Linked DNA regions of Homo sapiens: region 2 is linked to region 1. The links are contacts of gene promoters, found by promoter capture Hi-C in blood cells and fetal thymus (Javierre and others, 2016). All regions are on one chromosome and are shown on one strand. Each heading gives the region's core, a stretch centred on a gene start or on the middle of the fragment in contact. The rest is flanking DNA. Distances are from core to core; before and after follow the strand shown.

Region 1 (4,502 bases), core at 789-3,288:
GACAGCTGTGTGGATGAGCTGAAGAGAGGATGGTGAAGCTTCAGGCAGGGAGCCAGGTTAGGAGAATATGGCAGCACTTTTGACAACTCCCAGGAGCTTCACTGCCTTGAAAAGTAGTTGCAATAGGGAGTGATATAAGAGACAAGTATTTAGGAGATAGGATCTACAGGATTTGGTAACTACTGAAGGAGGAGGAGGAGGAAGAAAAGAGGAGGTGGAGGAGGAGGAAGAAGAGAAGGTGGAGAAGGAGGAAGAGGTGAAGGACAGAAAAGTCTAGAGTGACTATCAGTTTTCAAGCTTGGATGACTGGGTGCACAGTGGTGGTACCCTTGTAGAAATAGAAAACACTAAAGGAGGGTCAGGTCAAATTATCCCCCCATGTTCCCATTTACTTTCAGGAGTTCCATGCACTTTTGAATCACAGAGTTGAAATCATAGACTCTCTGAGTTGAAGAGGCACCAAAGCCCAGCTTTCCTGCCTTTGGGCAATAAGGGTCATTTGTTCACATCAAAGAAGTGGGAGAAAGGTCCATTCTATCTTAACATTCCTCAATTCTAACATTTTGTAAAGTTATTTTCCATTTTTAAATCTCTTGATAGTGTAGGTCTTCTTCAATTATACATTCCAGAGCTTATCCATAACCCCAACTCTTTCAATTCAATGCATTTCCTCCTAAGTGAAACCTACATGCCTCTCAATGTAAAATGGAGGCCAACATATACCTGCCAAGTGCTGAAGAATGTAGGTCTTAAAATAGACTATAGCCTTGTTTCAGGGATCTCTCACTTGGTTTTATTGGTATGGGCTAAACAGGGCTTCCGTTTCATAAATGAAAGTCTCCAGTAACATGAATGAAAGGCTCCAGGGCAGAATCTCAGAGGGTTTCTATGAGTATCACTTGGAACCAAGCACAGGCAACTGCACATCCCTGTTTGGGTTTGGAATTGGAGATGGTGGGTTTGGGATGTGGTTACTCTTGTTTGGAATACATTCTCCTCCTCTTAACAGGTTGATTCTTCCTTTGGAGGTCTGCTTAACCTTCCCTGATTACCCTGTCAGTTCCATTGTACATACCCTTCCAGAGCATCACTTACCTATCCTTAGTGTGATTCTTTGAGTAACATGTGTCTCCCCCAGCAAACTCCACGGCAGGACTGGTCAGTTTTTGCTCACCACACCATCCCAGTGCCTAGCCCAGTGCCTGGAACTTAGTGTTCAATAGGTACTAGTAAAAATGAATGCGTGATAGCAGTCTATGAAGTGCTAGCTATAAAATGAACACGTGATAGGAGTCTATGAAGTGCTAGGTATAAAATAATGCGTGATAGGAGTCTATGAAGTGCTAGGTATAAAATAATATGTGATAGGAGTCTATGAAGTGCCAGGTATAAAATAATGCCTGACAGGAGTCTATGAAGTGCTAGGTATAAAATAATGTGTGATAGGAGTCTATGAAGTGCTAGGTATGCCCATGACATCCACATGACAATTCACCCAGAGGTATTTTTATATCCCTGTCGCTGATGAAAAAGCAGAGGTGTGGCTCCTCGGTGGAGGGCTCTGATTCCAAACTCTTGAGCCTCCCAACCACTGTCCTCCGGGTAAGAAACCGTATAATAGTATTCTGGGTACAAAATACGCACACAAATTGGCCAGAAAGCCATAATCCCCCACAGTCACATTCTCTTGAAGATCCCCTTGCCTTCCCCTTGCCCTGTGAACAAGGAGAGGCTCAGAATCCAGGGGGCGTCCGGCAGGGCTCCTCCCTCAGACCAGCGCAGCCCTCGGGGCGCTCAGAGCCCTGCCCTCCCTCCACTTCCCCTCGGGGTGGCTACCTCAGGCTCGCTCCCAAACCGGCTGTCTGGCTTCAGGCGACACCTGGCGCCTGGCCTCAGGCGAGAGGTGTGGGGAGAGACCGAGTGCCTCCCACCCTTCTTAAGAAGGAGAGCAGTAGAACCTCGGCGGGGAGGGCAGCAGCGGCCGGGGGTGACAGCAGCGGCGGGGCACGACCGCCGTTAGCGTTAGACGTTAGCGCTCCGCCTTCGCCTGGCAAACCCTGCGCGGGCTCCGCTGCCAGGTCACCAGGGGTAGCGCCGGGCGCGACGTCACAGAGCCGCCCCGCCTCTCCTGCAGCGGCGGGTTCCCAGGGTCCCGCTAGGGCGCTGCTAGGGGACGCTGAAAGCTGTTTTGGGCTTTGCTGGTGGTGGAAGGACCAGACGGCCTGGAGGGTTAAGGACTGGGCTGGGGACGTTAGGAAACCCGGGCTGGGGGCGTTGGGGGTGGGGCGGAATGTGTAGCCATTGACGGTGCGCTTTTGTAGGTGAGAGGGCAGAAGTGGAGCTTGATCTTTCGGCTTGTGGAAAGTGGACAGGTGAGAATTCCTCAGGAATCATAGTAACAACACTTCTTACAATGAGTTTTTGGTGCCAGGAATTGTTCTAAGTGCATTACACACATGAACTCATTTCATCCTTACTGTCACCCCATGAGGCAAGTACTATTGTTATCCCCATTTTTACAGATGAGGGAACTGAGCACAGAGAGGTTAAACTTGTCCAAGATGACAGTCAGCAAGTGACAGAGTCAGGATCTGAATCTGGGTTGCGTGGTCCCAGATTCCTCACTCTTGACCTTATAATGCTAAGAAAGGGGCATGGAGTGGATAGGAACAGAGCCTGAGATGCCTGGGGACAACAGGGAAAGATAGAAAATATTTATAGGGTAGAATGTGGTCACTGTGCCAGGGCACTTTTACAAACATGATGACATCAAAGTTTCACAGTAAACTCTGAAGGTAGGTATTACCTTCGCTTTGGAAATAAAAAACAGGCTCAAGGCTTCGAGTAATTTTGCCTGTGATCGAACAGCTGGCAGTAGGGCTCAGGGCCCAACTTTACTCCAGGTCTTCCGGTTTCAAGACTGTGTGTGTGTGTGTGTGTGTGTGTGTGTGTGTGTGTGTGTGTGTGTGTGTGTTTTGAGACAGGGTCTTGCTCTGTTGCCCAGGCTGGAGTGCAATGGGGTAATCATGACTCACTGCAGCCTCAATCTCCTAGGTCTAAGCAATCCTCCCACCTCAGCCTCCCAAGTAGCTGAGACTGCAGGTGCTTGCCACGATGACAGGCTAATTTTTATATTTTTATAAACGGGGTTTTGCCATGTTGCCCAGGCTGGTCTTGAATCCCTGGGCTCAAGTGATCCACCTGCCTTGGTCTCCCAAAGTATTGGGATTACAGGTTTGAGCTACCGCACCTGGTCTCAAGACTGTTCGTTTTAAGCACCCAAGGAGGCAAGAAAAGCCCCATCTTTCTCTGCTACATCCCGTGTCACTTCACACCTATTTTAAAGGGGCCCATTGCATCATCTAATCCTTCATTCCATTTATACAACAGTGTGTATTAGTCTAAATAGATTAGTTCACCCAGGCCCTTCAAAGCTTTCTCTGTTTGTGAGATGAAAGCCTTTGTCTCTCCCTAAAGCAATTTTAAGCATCAGTGAACAAGTGGGGGAACTAGATTTTTGGGTTACGCATGCAGAAAGCTTTTCACAGCCTGTTGTCATCCATTTGTAAAGAGGCCACTCTGCTGGCATTTGTCAAAATCCTGTAGGTCCTTGCACACCTGGAGAATCCTGGATGGTCTGGGGATGGCCACTGCCCACAGGGCAAGATCTGGGGATGAAAGAAACCTAGTCACTAGCTATCACCTGCCTTTCTGAGGCCTCTGTGGAGGGGCTGCCAGGTGTTGGTATAGGCACTTGACAAACAGGGTGTGCCTTAGGTTGGGAGGGGGAGGCTGGAGGCTTGAGGGCTGCAGGTGCATCTTCCAGGATAACAAGAATGCTCTGGCCACTGGGGTCTGTTCTGTTGTATGCACATGGGATAAAGGTGTGCCAATCTCTTCCTGCTTTCATGCAGAGTAAATAATGCTGACAGGAGTGAATAATAATGATCTTTGTGCAGAAGAAGGGGTTTTTCAGACAAAGCACTAGCAGCTAGAGATGGGAGATGAAACAGAATAGAATTTTAGTGTAGCAAGTTAAACACAAGGGAGGAATTTCATGGGACTGTCTGACTGAGGCGATTTGATGTCTGTCTGTAGGAGGCCAGGTTGAGAGGCCTAGGTTAGATTATCCTTGATCTGTTAGTCAATAAATATAACAGGATACAGTCAAGAGAATACAATTTTACAGGAAAATGATAATAACATAATTCAGGAAAGTTGCTTTCTTCTAAAACAGAGGTAAGAGTAGAGAGGGAGGAGCACATAGATGTTACTGGTAGTGGTCTAGTTTTGGGGTGGGTGATGGGTTCATGGGTGTTTATTATGTTTCAGTAAAAAATCTGTCTTAAATATTACAATAAAATCTTTTATTACATACAATCTTTTATCAAGTAGGTTACACTGTTTTCTGCTATTTTCTTGTACGAACGAATATTGACTATATCCTTTCTCATCATTTCCCTTTTTCTACTAGATAATTCCCATCAACATAAAAACATGCC
Region 2 (4,356 bases), core at 596-3,095, 250 kb before region 1:
ATCCTCACTGCCCTGTTTAACAGCCATCCCCAACCCCATGCCACTGCCTCCCTGCCCGCCCACCTCTCCCCCTTAAGCTTCACTTCCCCCAGCCCTGAATGATTTATAAATCCCTTCTACATGGAGGCTCCTGACAATATTTTGAGGTAGGTGGTATTATTTCTATCTCACCGATAAGGAAACCAGGATTCCAAGAAGTCAAATGACTTATCCAGCTTCACAGGCTTTATAAACCAGGGAGCTGTGGCTTAACACCTAGAACCCTAACTTCACAGTCCACTCTTGAGATTGTCAGGCTTGTCTTGACTCAGAAGTTTTCTGCTATTTTGTGAGTGTGAGAATTGTCAGAACACTGTGGTCTGAGTAACAGAGGGAGAGTTGTAATAGGGACAGGAACATGCATCCCTAACAAACATACAGAGAACCCCTGAGAACCGCCTGAAACAGGAGGAACAGAATGGAAAGACTCCTACTAGTTGAAGGGTCTAACCCTGAATTTTCAGGGTCCCTAGGGCTATGATATGGTTTGGCTGTGTCCCCACCCAAATCTCATCTTGAAATGTAGCTCCCATAATTCCCACGTGTTGTGGGAGGGACCCAGTGGGAGGTAACTGAATCATAGGGTGGGTTTTCTCATGCTATTCTCATGACAGTGAATAAGTCTCATGTGATCTGATGGTTTTATAAAGAGGAGTTCCCCTGCACATGCTCTCTTGCCTGCCGCCATATAAGGCATGACTTGGCTCCTCATTCACCTTCTGTCATGATTGTGAGGCCTCCCCAGCCATGTGGAACGGTGAGTCCATTAAACCTCTTTCCTTCATAAATTACCCAGTCTCGGGTATGTCTATTAGCAGCATGAGAACAGACTAATACAGGCTGGATCAGGGTCAGGGCAGACAGAAACCTCACCTTGAGCCAGGTGACCTGCGGTTGGGGCCGGCCAGTGATCTTGCAGGAGAATCGTCCCATCTGTCCTTCTTTGACCACAACTCGGCCCAGCTTGGTAGCAAACTTTGGTGGGCACTCCCCCCAGATGCTAGGACGGGTCTCCACTGCTGGAGCTGAAAATCTATCCCTGTAAGGAAATTGGCAGAGAATCCAGTCCCAGACAAGGCAGCAATTCAACCATCCTCTCTCCACCTCACTCAAAGGCACTAAGTTAAGGTCAGAAGCCATCAAAGTGTAGCCTTCCCAATTTTATGCCTCAGAAACTTTCTCATGCTCTCTCTAGAAAAATGTGTGGCACCAAAACCTATTTCCTCTACCTCTTGGGCATGCAGCTAGACTTCATTTACTAGCCTTCCTTGCAGTTAGGCATGCCTGAATTCCACTGAGCCCTGGCTGAAAGCCTGGGTTTTAGCCAGGAGACCATGAGCAGAAGAGCTGTATGCCACTTCCAGGGCCGACTCATAAGAACCTCCTGTGAGGCTCTGCAGTCTCTCGTCCACTCTGCTGGTGAGATGCAGAAGGCCCAGTGGGGGCTCAAGGGCCTAGGAGATGAAACTATAAAATGGAAGAAGCCTGGGCTCCTGGAAGATAATGTGGAAGGCTCTCCCCATGTTCCAGGATATCTGAACTGAACTTTCCCTGAGTAAGAAACAAACTTTCCCTGGGTTGAGCCACTGTGATTTGAGGCTTGTCTGTTACAGCAGCTACTGTTACCCGCCTCTTCTAGGCTTGCTTATTTCAATCTTCTGACTATTGCCTTGATTGTTAGAGTCCACTGCAGACTCTGGCCACCTCTCCCACTTCCTTACATTTAGCAGCTGGGCCAGTCAAAGGAGCCAATCACAGAGGCAGCCAGGTCAGGAGGTGCTGTGTAAATGACACATCTCATTGTACTAGGCTCCCGCCCTTTGGTTATTATAACCTAGGAGAGCCAAGACTTACTCCCCAGACCTATCCTGCTCAAGTCAGCAGGAAAGCAATCCAACCCTTACTCTGTCTTGAACATCCAGGACTTACCCTAAGGTTTTGGAAACAACAGGCTGACCAAGCTGCTTCGCAAAACTTCCTGCAAGAAAAAGAGTTGATGAGTCAGGTCTGAGCCACCAACTTGGAGCAATGAAAGTAAAAAGATTCAACAGCAGGGGTGGGTGGGATAGTGATGGTGATCATTAATCTTGACTGAGCATGGGCTGTGTCACTATGGATACTATGGTAGGTGTTTACATACATTATCATGTGAATTTCTTGCAATAATTTTATGAAGCTGATACTACATTATCCTATTTTTTAAACAGATGAGAGAAATAAGATTCAGAGAAGTTAAGTCATCCATACAAGGTCACAAAGTCAGTAACAGTGCAGAAATTCACCCAGGTCTGCCAGATTCTAAAACTCTCAACCACCCTGCTGAGTTGTTAGGGTAGTACGCTCTACCTTCCATTTTGGGGATTATTTGGGGGTGATTCAGGACCTCTCCAGAACATTTTCTCAGTTAAAGGGAGGGAGGGAAAGGCCCATGCCTATCTCTTACCACACCTACTCTTGACTGACACAATCAACACTCCATTCTTCCACTTAAGGCCTGGCAAGTAGCAGCAAGCTGAAAGAGAGCAGGACAGGTCACTGCAGATGAGCTACAGCGGAGCCAGCAGCTCCTGCAGAATCTGCAGTGCTGCCACACTGAACACTGCCAGTCCTGGGCAAGGTGCTGCTATGCTGGACACTGCCAGTCCTGGGCAAGGCGCTGCTATGCTGGACACTGCCAGTCCTGGGCAAGGCGCTGCTATGCTAGACACTGCCAGTCCTGGGCAAGGCGCTGCTATGCTGGGCACTGCCAGTCGGTCCTAGGTGAGATGATGAGGCCATAGTAGGCGCTATCCTACTGGGCGCTGCTGATCCTGGGTGAGCTGTTGCCGTGCTAGGCAGGAGGCCATTAAATAGCAAAGCCAGCAAGGCAGCTGGGGTTAGCTCCTTTCATCCAGCTCCTGCAGCTGGGAGGGACAATTCACAATGTCACCATGAAATAACTCTAAAGTAGTGGGAGTTTTATTTTGAGGGGTGGGGTGGGAGGAAGAGGTCTTTTTTGAGATGATGATCACCCTGAAAGTTGTTCTTCTTTTGCCGCAAGCTGGGGATGTTTATAAAACCCTATCCCAGGGAGGGTAGAGTCATCCTCTGATATCAGCAGACAGTTGCTGTGGGGAATTTGCAGGGAGTTTACTGCAAAAGAGTAAACTTCCTTAACTTTGACTCTGATCACATTTATATGACTGTGTAAGAACATAGGTGTGGAGGAGAAAAATCATGGCTATTTTCATCAGCCACACCCGGTTTAAGATTCCACCAGAACTTTAGTGAAAAGGGATTAATAACAAACACTGGCATCACATTTAAGCTGTGGCTCCATATAATTGGTGATTACGATACAGGCATTTCTGTTTAACATTACTTAGTGAGCTGTGTCTAGTTTTCATTCCTGAAAGTGTTTTGGTTTTTGTCATTCCATTCTCTATTCAAAAGTAAAAGAACTTCTAAATTGATAAAAGGAGAGACTTGTTTTGAAAGGACCCAACTGACAGTCAAGATGCTGGGCCCTCAGATGCTGCTGGAGGCAGAGCCAACTGTCCAGTCCTCCTGGAAATACTTGAGTGAGGAAAAATCATAAGCTTTAAAGATGCTCTGCTCTTGGGACAGCACCTCCGTTTCTGTGACTCCATTCAAAGGAAACGACGCTAAAGTTAGAAGAGAAAGTTTACACAGCTATTCACTTTTATCTTATTTGTAATAGTGAAAGTTAGAAGCAACATAAATGTCACTCAGTAGGAAGAAAATAAGTAGTCAGGTAAAATGTACAATTAGACATCTTATTCTGCCATTAAATTATGTTTAAGAATATCTGAAACGTGCAGGTACATGTTAGGATATTATCTCATTCGTTCCTCAGCACACTCCAAATGGGCTATGATCCTCTCCGCTCCACTGGGCTCCATCCCAGCCACAATCTTGTCAAACCCAATGGTTGACACTCTGTCTCCATCTCACTCAGATGCTCAGTAGTATCTGACACAAGGTCCCACTCCCCTTCAAAGCACTTTCTCTTCTAGACTTTCCTGCTTTTACCAGGTTATTCATCTTCTCTCAACCTCCTTCTCTGCTCAACCTTTGCATGCTGGGGCACCCTAGGGCTGAGTCCTGGGCCTCTCCCCAGCTCCATCTAATTTCTCCCAGGAGGTCTTAGTCCCATAGCTTTAAATATCATCTATATGCTAAAGACCCAACCCATATCCCCACTAGAACTTCTTATTCACTCATCAGATGTATCCGGAACAAATCCCAGCACATTGTAGGTATTTAAATATTTGTTAAATACATTTTGTGCAGCATACAAAATTACCTATTTAATGT

Evidence for each region. The method cuts DNA at HindIII sites, captures the fragments that hold promoters and counts their contacts. A CHiCAGO score of 5 or more calls a contact.
Region 2: a contact is called between a fragment that was not itself captured here and the fragment with the promoter of ROPN1 in region 1, in 2 of 17 cell types (endothelial precursors and M1 macrophages). The highest score is 7.4, in endothelial precursors.

What each region holds. Positions count from the first base shown.
Region 1 is chr3:123,990,086-123,994,587 of GRCh38, forward strand. ROPN1 (rhophilin associated tail protein 1) reads right to left here and starts at 2,039. Exons shown (of 6, transcript NM_001317774.2): 1 at 1,837-2,039. RefSeq lists an enhancer at 1,811-2,327. The HindIII fragment of the contact is 3,137 bases long and covers 296-3,432 here.
Region 2 is chr3:123,737,985-123,742,340 of GRCh38, forward strand. It overlaps MYLK (myosin light chain kinase), which reads right to left. Exons shown (of 34, transcript NM_053025.4): 6 at 1,969-2,017; 7 at 913-1,078. Among named protein-coding and RNA genes, the nearest start is that of MYLK-AS2, 51 kb to the left of the region's middle. The HindIII fragment of the contact is 3,540 bases long and covers 76-3,615 here.